2 separate regions of the Homo sapiens genome follow, and region 1 is linked to region 2. Evidence: promoter capture Hi-C in human tissues and cell types (Jung and others, 2019). All regions are on one chromosome and are shown on one strand. Each heading gives the region's core, a stretch centred on a gene start or on the middle of the fragment in contact. The rest is flanking DNA. Distances are from core to core; before and after follow the strand shown.

What was found. Contacts are between HindIII fragments. The study calls those that stand out against the background at their distance.
Region 1: a fragment that was not itself captured here is called in contact with the fragment with the promoter of TNC in region 2 in 2 of the 25 tissues and cell types used here (liver and thymus).

The regions. Positions count from the first base shown.
Region 1 is chr9:115,049,526-115,053,355 of GRCh38, forward strand. All of the region lies in intron 15 of TNC (tenascin C), which reads right to left. Among named protein-coding and RNA genes, the nearest start is that of TNC, 67 kb to the right of the region's middle. The HindIII fragment of the contact is 4,288 bases long and covers 334-3,830 here.
Region 2 is chr9:115,115,874-115,120,069 of GRCh38, forward strand. TNC (tenascin C) reads right to left here and starts at 2,284. Exons shown (of 28, transcript NM_002160.4): 1 at 2,109-2,284. All of the region lies in intron 2 of LOC124902255 (a long non-coding RNA gene), which reads left to right. It overlaps LOC101928748 (a long non-coding RNA gene), which reads right to left. Exons shown (of 6, transcript NR_110950.1): 6 at 3,666-3,835. RefSeq lists an enhancer at 2,563-3,382. The HindIII fragment of the contact is 7,931 bases long and covers 1-4,196 here.

The DNA.
Region 1 (3,830 bases), core at 1,228-3,727, 66 kb before region 2:
CAAGTTCTATGTTCTTTCCATACCCAAAGCCAACCCCAATCAGTGATGGCAATCCTGAGGGATAAGGAGGATTAGTGGAGAAGGTTCAGCGTCTCTTTTCTAGGTGTTTTTTCTTTTTTCTTTTTTTTTTTCTGACAGTACTGGTAAATGCATTTTTTTTTTTAATCAGAAGAAAAAAAGGAGACAGGAATTTCAAATTAGCTGCATCTAGTTTAGACACTTCTTTTCCATTACAGCTAAATGGAAACTTACAAAGAGATAAATGCTCTTGCATTAATTCACTAATGCCTAGGGTCTAATCCATGAGACATAAAGAAAAATGTTTTAAAAAGAAGTGTTTGGTGACTGAATGAATAAGGGAATGAATACCTTCATTTTGTAAATAGAGATTTAAATTTTGCTGTGGCTTGGACTTCCTGTAGTTATTTTGAAACACTTGGTGTTTATTCTGAGGCAGTTTTTTCCACGTAAAGATTTCCCAAGAATCATAATTCTATCAAAAGCGAGGATGAAATCTCTTATACTGGGCAAACAATCTTCATCTGAGAGACAAGGGTCTCGAATTCTGTTCCTGGATTTTGTTTAGATAAGTGGCATCTCTCTTTGATAGCTGGCCTCTTTGCACCTCCACACCATCAAAGCAGTGAATTCCAATGAAAGTGAGGGCATTCAGGCTAATTAGGCAATCAAGGGCTTGTTATTTAAGAGTCCCTCCTGTTTTGTTTTTTTCTTTTTTAATATGCTTCTTTTAAAACGCAATCTTTTCACATCATGGATTAGCTGAGACAATGCTGTAACTGGATCTAGGATTCCCAAGACTGGGTCTCTCAGCTTCCTTTTCTTCTGTTATGTGGGAGGTCCTGCAAGCCGCTACAAGCAATGGCCTGATGGGATCTGTGGCCATTTCTCCCCTCCTGAGGAGTGAGAATCTCATCTCGTTCCTCCTTGTCTCAGTCCCTTAAGAAATTACCATGTTCTGCATTTGAAGACTCATCTGAATGATTTAATTCACATTAGGTAACTGGATAGGAAAAAATACTCATTTTTTAATCTTACATTAAAACACATCCAAAGTTCTCTTAAAAACGAGAGGGAGTTCATGATTGCATAGGTCTATTGTTCTATCTAGCCTTATTGGTTATTTTTAAGAAAGCCACTTTCCTAATAATGTTGGGAGACAGCAGAAAGAACCTAGCATGTATAAAATTCCTACTGGATGCTAGGCAGTTAAATTTCACCAACTCTATTTAATCTATGAGACAAGGCTCCCAGAAGTGCCTGTGGTATCCTCTCTCCATGCATAAGGAAATTAGGGTTCAAACAAGTTAAGAACTTGCTAAAATTATGTAGCTAAAAAGCTGTGGGAGAGGTTTAGAAACCACAAAAGCTTGATCTCAAAATCCTCACTCTTCCAGGACACCATGCTGCCTATAATTAAATATTTAATTGTACTAATTGACATGTCTTAGTGATGGCAATTTAGACCCTGGGAGAGACCTGGTTTAATGTGAAAATCAGATGGCAAAGTCCGTCTTCTGAAAATTATCACTAATGAAAAGGAAGAGACTTCTAAATATTTTCTGAGGCTTTTTGGGCTAGAATTTAGTAAACTGACACCATGTGCAGCCTTTGCCATTGAAGTTTTTGCTGCCACCATTTGGCAGCATTTGCCAAATTGAACATTGGCAAATGTTCAAGAAGTCAAGTTGAGTGAATGGGTAGGGCTTAATTAAACTTGAAATTTATCTGCCATCTGAGGTTGAACCTTCATCAATCTTCCAACCCCGATCACATCTAAAAAAACCAGAGAAGTTAATGACTTATCCTAGGTCATACATCTGCTAGGTGCCTAAGCTGAGATATACAACCAGGTCTTCCGACTCCAAGTTCTACGTTCTTTCCATACCCAAAGCCAACCCCAATCAGTGATGGCAATCCTGAGGGATAAGGAGGATTAGTGGAGAAGGTTCAGCGTCTCTTTTCTAGGTGATTTTTCTTTTTTCTTTTTTTTCTTTTTTTTTTTTTTCTGACAGTACTGGTAAATGCATTTTTTTTTTAATCAAAAGAAAAAAAGGAGACAGGAATTTCAAATTAGCTGCATCTAGCTGCATCTGTGTTGTCAGTTTTAAGAATAATTATTTTTTAAAGAAAAAGATGGTTATACTTTTGTCACATATATGAACTGCGTTACCTAGCATGATTTATGAACAGGATTTCGATCTTAGGCCTTTACTAACTTAGGAGTCACTTTTTAGGCAGAATCTCTAAACTAGGGATAAAACAGCCAATAAAACTGGGCACAAAAAACCCTAAAAGCTTTATACAACTCTTGAGAACGTTCTCTCCACTTCCTAAGAGCAGCTGTGAAAGTCCTCTCCTTTATAATAGTATCTGCTTTCTCTTTACTTAGAAGTTTACATATATTATCTTGGCTATCATGAGTAATGTATTGTAACCTGTGTCTGTCAATGGATGAATGGATAAAGAAAATGTGGTGTATAGATAGATCATATTTATATATAAATATATACATTCCATATGTGTGTATATATACATATATATATATATACACATATATATATAATGGAATACTTTATAGCCTTAAAAAAGAGGAAAATTCTGTCATTTTCAACAACACGGATGAACCCAGAAGACATTGTACAGAGTGAAATAATCGAGGCACAGAAAGACAAATACTGCGTGATCTCATTTGTGTAATCTAAGAAAGCTGAACACATAGAAGCACAGAGAAGACTGGTGGTTACCGGTGACTGGGGTTGGGGAGATGAAGAAAGGGGAGATGTTGGTCAAGGAGTACAAAGTTCAGTTAGACAGAAGGAATAAGTTTTAGTGATCTACTGCACAGCATGGTGACTGGCCATAGTTAATAATAACATATTGAATACTTCAAAATTCCTAAAAGAGTAGATTTTAAATGTTCTCACAGCACAATAAATAAATAAATAAATAAATAAATAAATAAATAAGGTGAGGTGATTGATATGTTAATTAGGTTGATTCAATCAATCCACAATGTATATGTATATCAAAACAACACACTATTCTCCATAAATATATACAATTACTATTTGTCAATTAAAAATAAGAGAGTACACATTTGCAGTGAAGATTGTATTTTTGTTGAATTTTCCTTTAAGATGACTTATCTCCTTTTCTCTCTGTGTTAGACAAGTGAGAACCTCTGATTGAGTACCTGTAATGACAAAGGCAGTGAGGGGTCTGGTGGGATCCCCAGCCAAGGTGGTTCCTGCCACACTGACGTCATAGCCAGTGTTCTCCACCAAGCCTGTGATGTGAGCTTGCTTTGCATCTCCTGAGACTGTGAATTGCTGGGACTCATGCAGTGAGTGAGCGTCACTCACATTGATAACAATCTTTGCAAAAAGCCCAGCTTGAGTGGTCCATGACATGTTGAAGCTTTTTGGAGTAATATTGCTAAAGATTAGCGTGCCCAACTGTGGCTTTGGTTCTAAAGAAGGAATATGGGCAGAGAGAAAGAGAGAGACATTATTAGAGGAAGCAGTGGATTTTTCCAGAATGTAGCCATAGAACATGAAAGCATCAATATCTCCAAATACATACAGAAGAGACAGTATGTTAGGCTGTGTCTACACCTGCATTGAATATGATGATAGAAAATATATTGCTTTCTCTGCAGGTGTATATTTGTGTTCTTTATTTTTATTTTATTTTTTAGATCTGTGTTCTTTTAAAGCATAAACACCACCATTTGCTAGTCATGTATGAAGAAGAGTAGACAAGCCATTAGAGTGGTAGATTGGAGTAACGTGAAGGGTATTAAGGCTACA
Region 2 (4,196 bases), core at 1,034-3,533:
GTCATATACTGGGGGTTTGCCCTAAATTCATGTAATGAATATTTTCATCATTAAAAATAAGTTTAAAAATCATGATCTTAGAATATTAATCTTGGACAAGTCCTTGTAAAATGATAAACAGAGAAACTAAGAAAAGTTTCCATTTATTGAACCCTTAATATGTGGAAGGTACTATGCCAAGTGTTTGCCATATATTACCTCATTTGAATGTTGCAAGAGCCCTGTGAGACATAGTTTGTCATCTCCATTATATGAATGACAAAGTTGAGGGCTGAAACGTTAGTCACTTCTTAGAGTGGGGAAGGAGGAGGTTAGTGTGGGATAAAATAGAGAAGCTAGGTTTTTAAAACAAAGCATAGAGGAAAAAAATATTTAATGACTGTAGAGCTTGGCAACATCCCTTTCAATCCTTGTCCAATTTACCCTGTTTGAGCAAACCAGAGAATACTCATATTGTGCACCTTTTTCTTCCCCACAAAGCAGTCACCTTCCTGAAATGCAAGGGCCAAAGCACGCTGACTTACATCTCCTGCAAATGACTTGTATGCGCACAAAGCCAGAAACTCTTCACTTGGTTGTCTAGGACTGAATAAATCTTCTTCAGTCCTGAATTGGGCTTGCCTGGCTGGGATGGATAGTAGTTTTCCTTTCTAAAACACATATGGGAAAGCTCTGTAAAAATGGGGGAAAAAGTCTACAAAAACATGAAAAAGAGGCATTCATTCTTCAAGTGGTGCTCCCTGTCCTGCCCTCCCTCCGGACAGAAAGCTTTTCCAAAGAGTTTCCAACAGCATCGTACTTCATAGCTGTCAGCTTTAGAATCTGCAGATGCCTAAACTCAAAACCTCCTGACATTCTGGAATCAAAATTTGACATTAACTTCCAGCCCCGGGCTACTACCTTTTCTCCAACCTGTGCCAACACAACCTCCTGCTTGTAAAATACAGCCAAGTCTCAGACCTGCCAGCCTAGTGAGACACCCTCAGATTGGGTGAGATAAAAAGCGGGGGCTGGGGGCGGGCTGAGGAACAACACACAAGAAACAATCCAAGACTGGCTCAATGCCTCTTTTAACTTCCAGAGTGATGGCAGTTTTTGGCAATGACAATGATTATCCAAACTTCCAGTTATTAAGCAGTCATTGCTGATCTTTCTATACCTCATTTTCTCCTCAAAACGACAGCAGACGCTATTGTCCCCATTTTAGAGATGTGAAAACTGAGGATTAAGGAAGTGATGTATCTTTCTCAGGGTCATATGTATGGTGGTGGGGAGAATACCAAACACCTCTGGCTTCAAACCTAAGCTCTTATTCCTCTTACAACACTGATGGGTGAGAAGAACCCCTGTGTTCTTTCCAAAGTACACCAGGGGCAGCAGGGTTCCCATACCTGGGGGATGTTGTTGCTCAGATCTTTCTGTGATGAGAGGTGAGGAGGAGGAGGTGATTCTAGAGACATGTGGGACGCTGCTGGCTCTAGGCACCCCAGTAAAGCTGTTCTCCACCACTCTCTAGCTGCCTGTCAGTTATTCATCTGGCCCAGGAGCCACCTCCTCTCTTCTGTCCCCCAGCTCTCATTTCCAGGGTGAATATTTTGAGGACCAAATGAGGGAATGGGTACAAAACTCTTTGTAAACTTTATGTAAGTGCTGTTTAGATATAAACTTTTATATTCTCCCTGCACTCCTCTATCAAACTCCCTCTAACCCATCCCAGGGGCAGGCTATGAGCAAAGTCTGCCTTAAAACTCTACTGCCCTAACCCTCAAAATAAAAGATATATACAGGTGAATCAGCCAGACTAGAAGTAGGAGAGCAGTTGAAGAGAAAATTTTTACTTTTCCTCTGCAGAACAGCAGAAGATAACAACTTTACGAAAAGTTCCTTCCAAGTCTGACTATTCATAAAGTTAAAACAAACAAAATTACAAGACCAGAAAAGTCAAGGTGCATCTGATATAACCAATACACACTCCTTTTTTTTCCAGCGGTGGAAAAAAAAACCCCATATGTTTTGTAATTATAATATAAAATCACAACTCATTTGGTACCAGGAATGCAATCCTTACATCATAAGGATCTCTAGTGATGAGGGCAAAACAGACTTACCTTTCCGATGGGCGAGAGACCTAGGTCCTTGGAAGAAGTACCTGGAGTGTGGAGCTGCGGCGGTTCCCACGTGCGCGTTCCCCCGAGTTCCCCAGCAGCGCTGCCTTTGTGCCCACGGAGGCGGGGGCGTGTATCTGCGCGCGGGAGAGGCGGGTGACAGTAGGCAGGCTGTGGCCGGTGCAGCCAACTTTGGCTGGCTTATATAGCGAGCTCCTTCCTCTGTAATGGGACGCCTCGCCTCCAGACATCCTTTCCCACTTTTTCAGTTGGCGAATTAAAGGAACAGCCCTCCCAGCGGAACAGGGTTAGCTCATGAAAGACGCACTCACTCCTGGCTCTCGGCCAGGGAAGGAACCCATTTGCATACAATTTATGGCGAAAGTAGGAATTCCCGCCTGCCCGCCCCCGACCCCGAGTAGCTGTTAGTGAAATGTGATTTTTGCTTTGCTCCCCACACGGGTTTTCTAATTGTGAGACGGATGCCTGGGGAGCAAGAGGGAGTAGGATCCGCAGCCCTGGCTCCCCTCTTGTACTTGGTCAAGCTGGAAATGGGACCAGGGCTCGCCTGGGCTCTGGGCAGCAGCTGCTCAGTGGCACCTCGGAGCGAGTACAGGGACTGAGCCCAGTTCCTGGAAAGAGGAGATAAAGCCCTTCAAAAGCCTGGGGGGTTTCAGGTTTCTCTGGGCCAGCGGAGAGATAACCCAGGATTAGGTCTCAGCAGGTGGGGATCGTGCGGGACGCTCACATCAGCCCTGCTTTTCTTGTGTGGGAGCCAGCCTTGCCCAGCTGCTGGGAGGCATCTTTGTTCCAGCCCCAGTGTCCTGCAGGGCAGTAGCTTTTTGACATTGTTCATGCCCTGTGCCTGGTGTGGTCTTCTCAGCTGGGTCTCCAGGGGGAAGGATTTCTGAGGTTTTCTCTTAGTGCTGAAAGGCGTCCCCCACAGCCCTTTCTTTAAAGAAAAGCAATAATTTAAAAAGGTAACAACCTAATCCTTGAGCCATAAGCTGCGCCTTTGCTTTCCAGCCTGCCGTGGATTTCCTCCAAGCTCTGAGTCATCCGTTCGTTTGGTGGTTAGCATGCATTGAGTATCCTCAGGGCATACAGGGGCATTTAAGGGAGTGGAGAAGTAGCACTTCACCCGTGCCTAGAGACTTCTGAGCCTGCCGCAGAGCATAGTAGTTTGTGACAGTGAAGTAAAATGAAGCATTAAATGTAATTCAAAACGCAACTACCATTGAGCCCTCCCTTATTAAGTCTATAATCAGGTGCTGTGCAGGGTACTTTATGAACACTATTTTTGTTCACTATTTTTATTATATCCTTGTAACCAGTAAGTAGGATAGACACAAGTGTCTCTTTTTTACACAAGAAAACTGACGTTTAGAGAAGTAATGAAACTTTACCAAGGGAATACACCTGGGAAGTGTTTATATTACAACACTGGGCTCCAGAGATCTATTACACGTTACTGTTTAGGAATAGGGTATGATGATATTTAAACAATGTTTTATGCTGTATTAGATTGTTAACACCATTTGTGTAGAAATCACAGCCATATTTGAATATGGAAAATATATTTATTTGCTCCATAAAGCTAATTAGGAGAGATCTTTGATTTTTAAAAATTAACTACTAATAATGGAGGTCTCAATTATCCACTTATTTTCAATATTAAATGATATCATCCCCACAGTTATTATTGTTGCTGTGGGCCTCAGTTTCCCCATCTGAAAAAAAAAGCAAGACACGATTAGGTCATCCTACGGTTGCTTTGGCTGTAGTATTTTAGGATTCTCTGCTAAAGTGACCCTCCCAGACAGCAAGAAAGCCCATAAATAGTCATGTCATAAAACCGCTCATTTGAACTTTTGATCCATTTTGGCTGATTCAAATGTTGGTTGTTTGGGAAGTTTTAAATTCTGTGCTTTAGCCAAAGGATATTTCAGTAGCATGAAGCTGTGTCTCAACCAGCAGTGAGTGGTTCCTACTGAGTTAATCTCTTGGGTTAGGGATTAAAATATTAGAATAGTGTACAATATATGTCATATGGTATATAAACTATATTTGTATAGAACATATAATCAATAT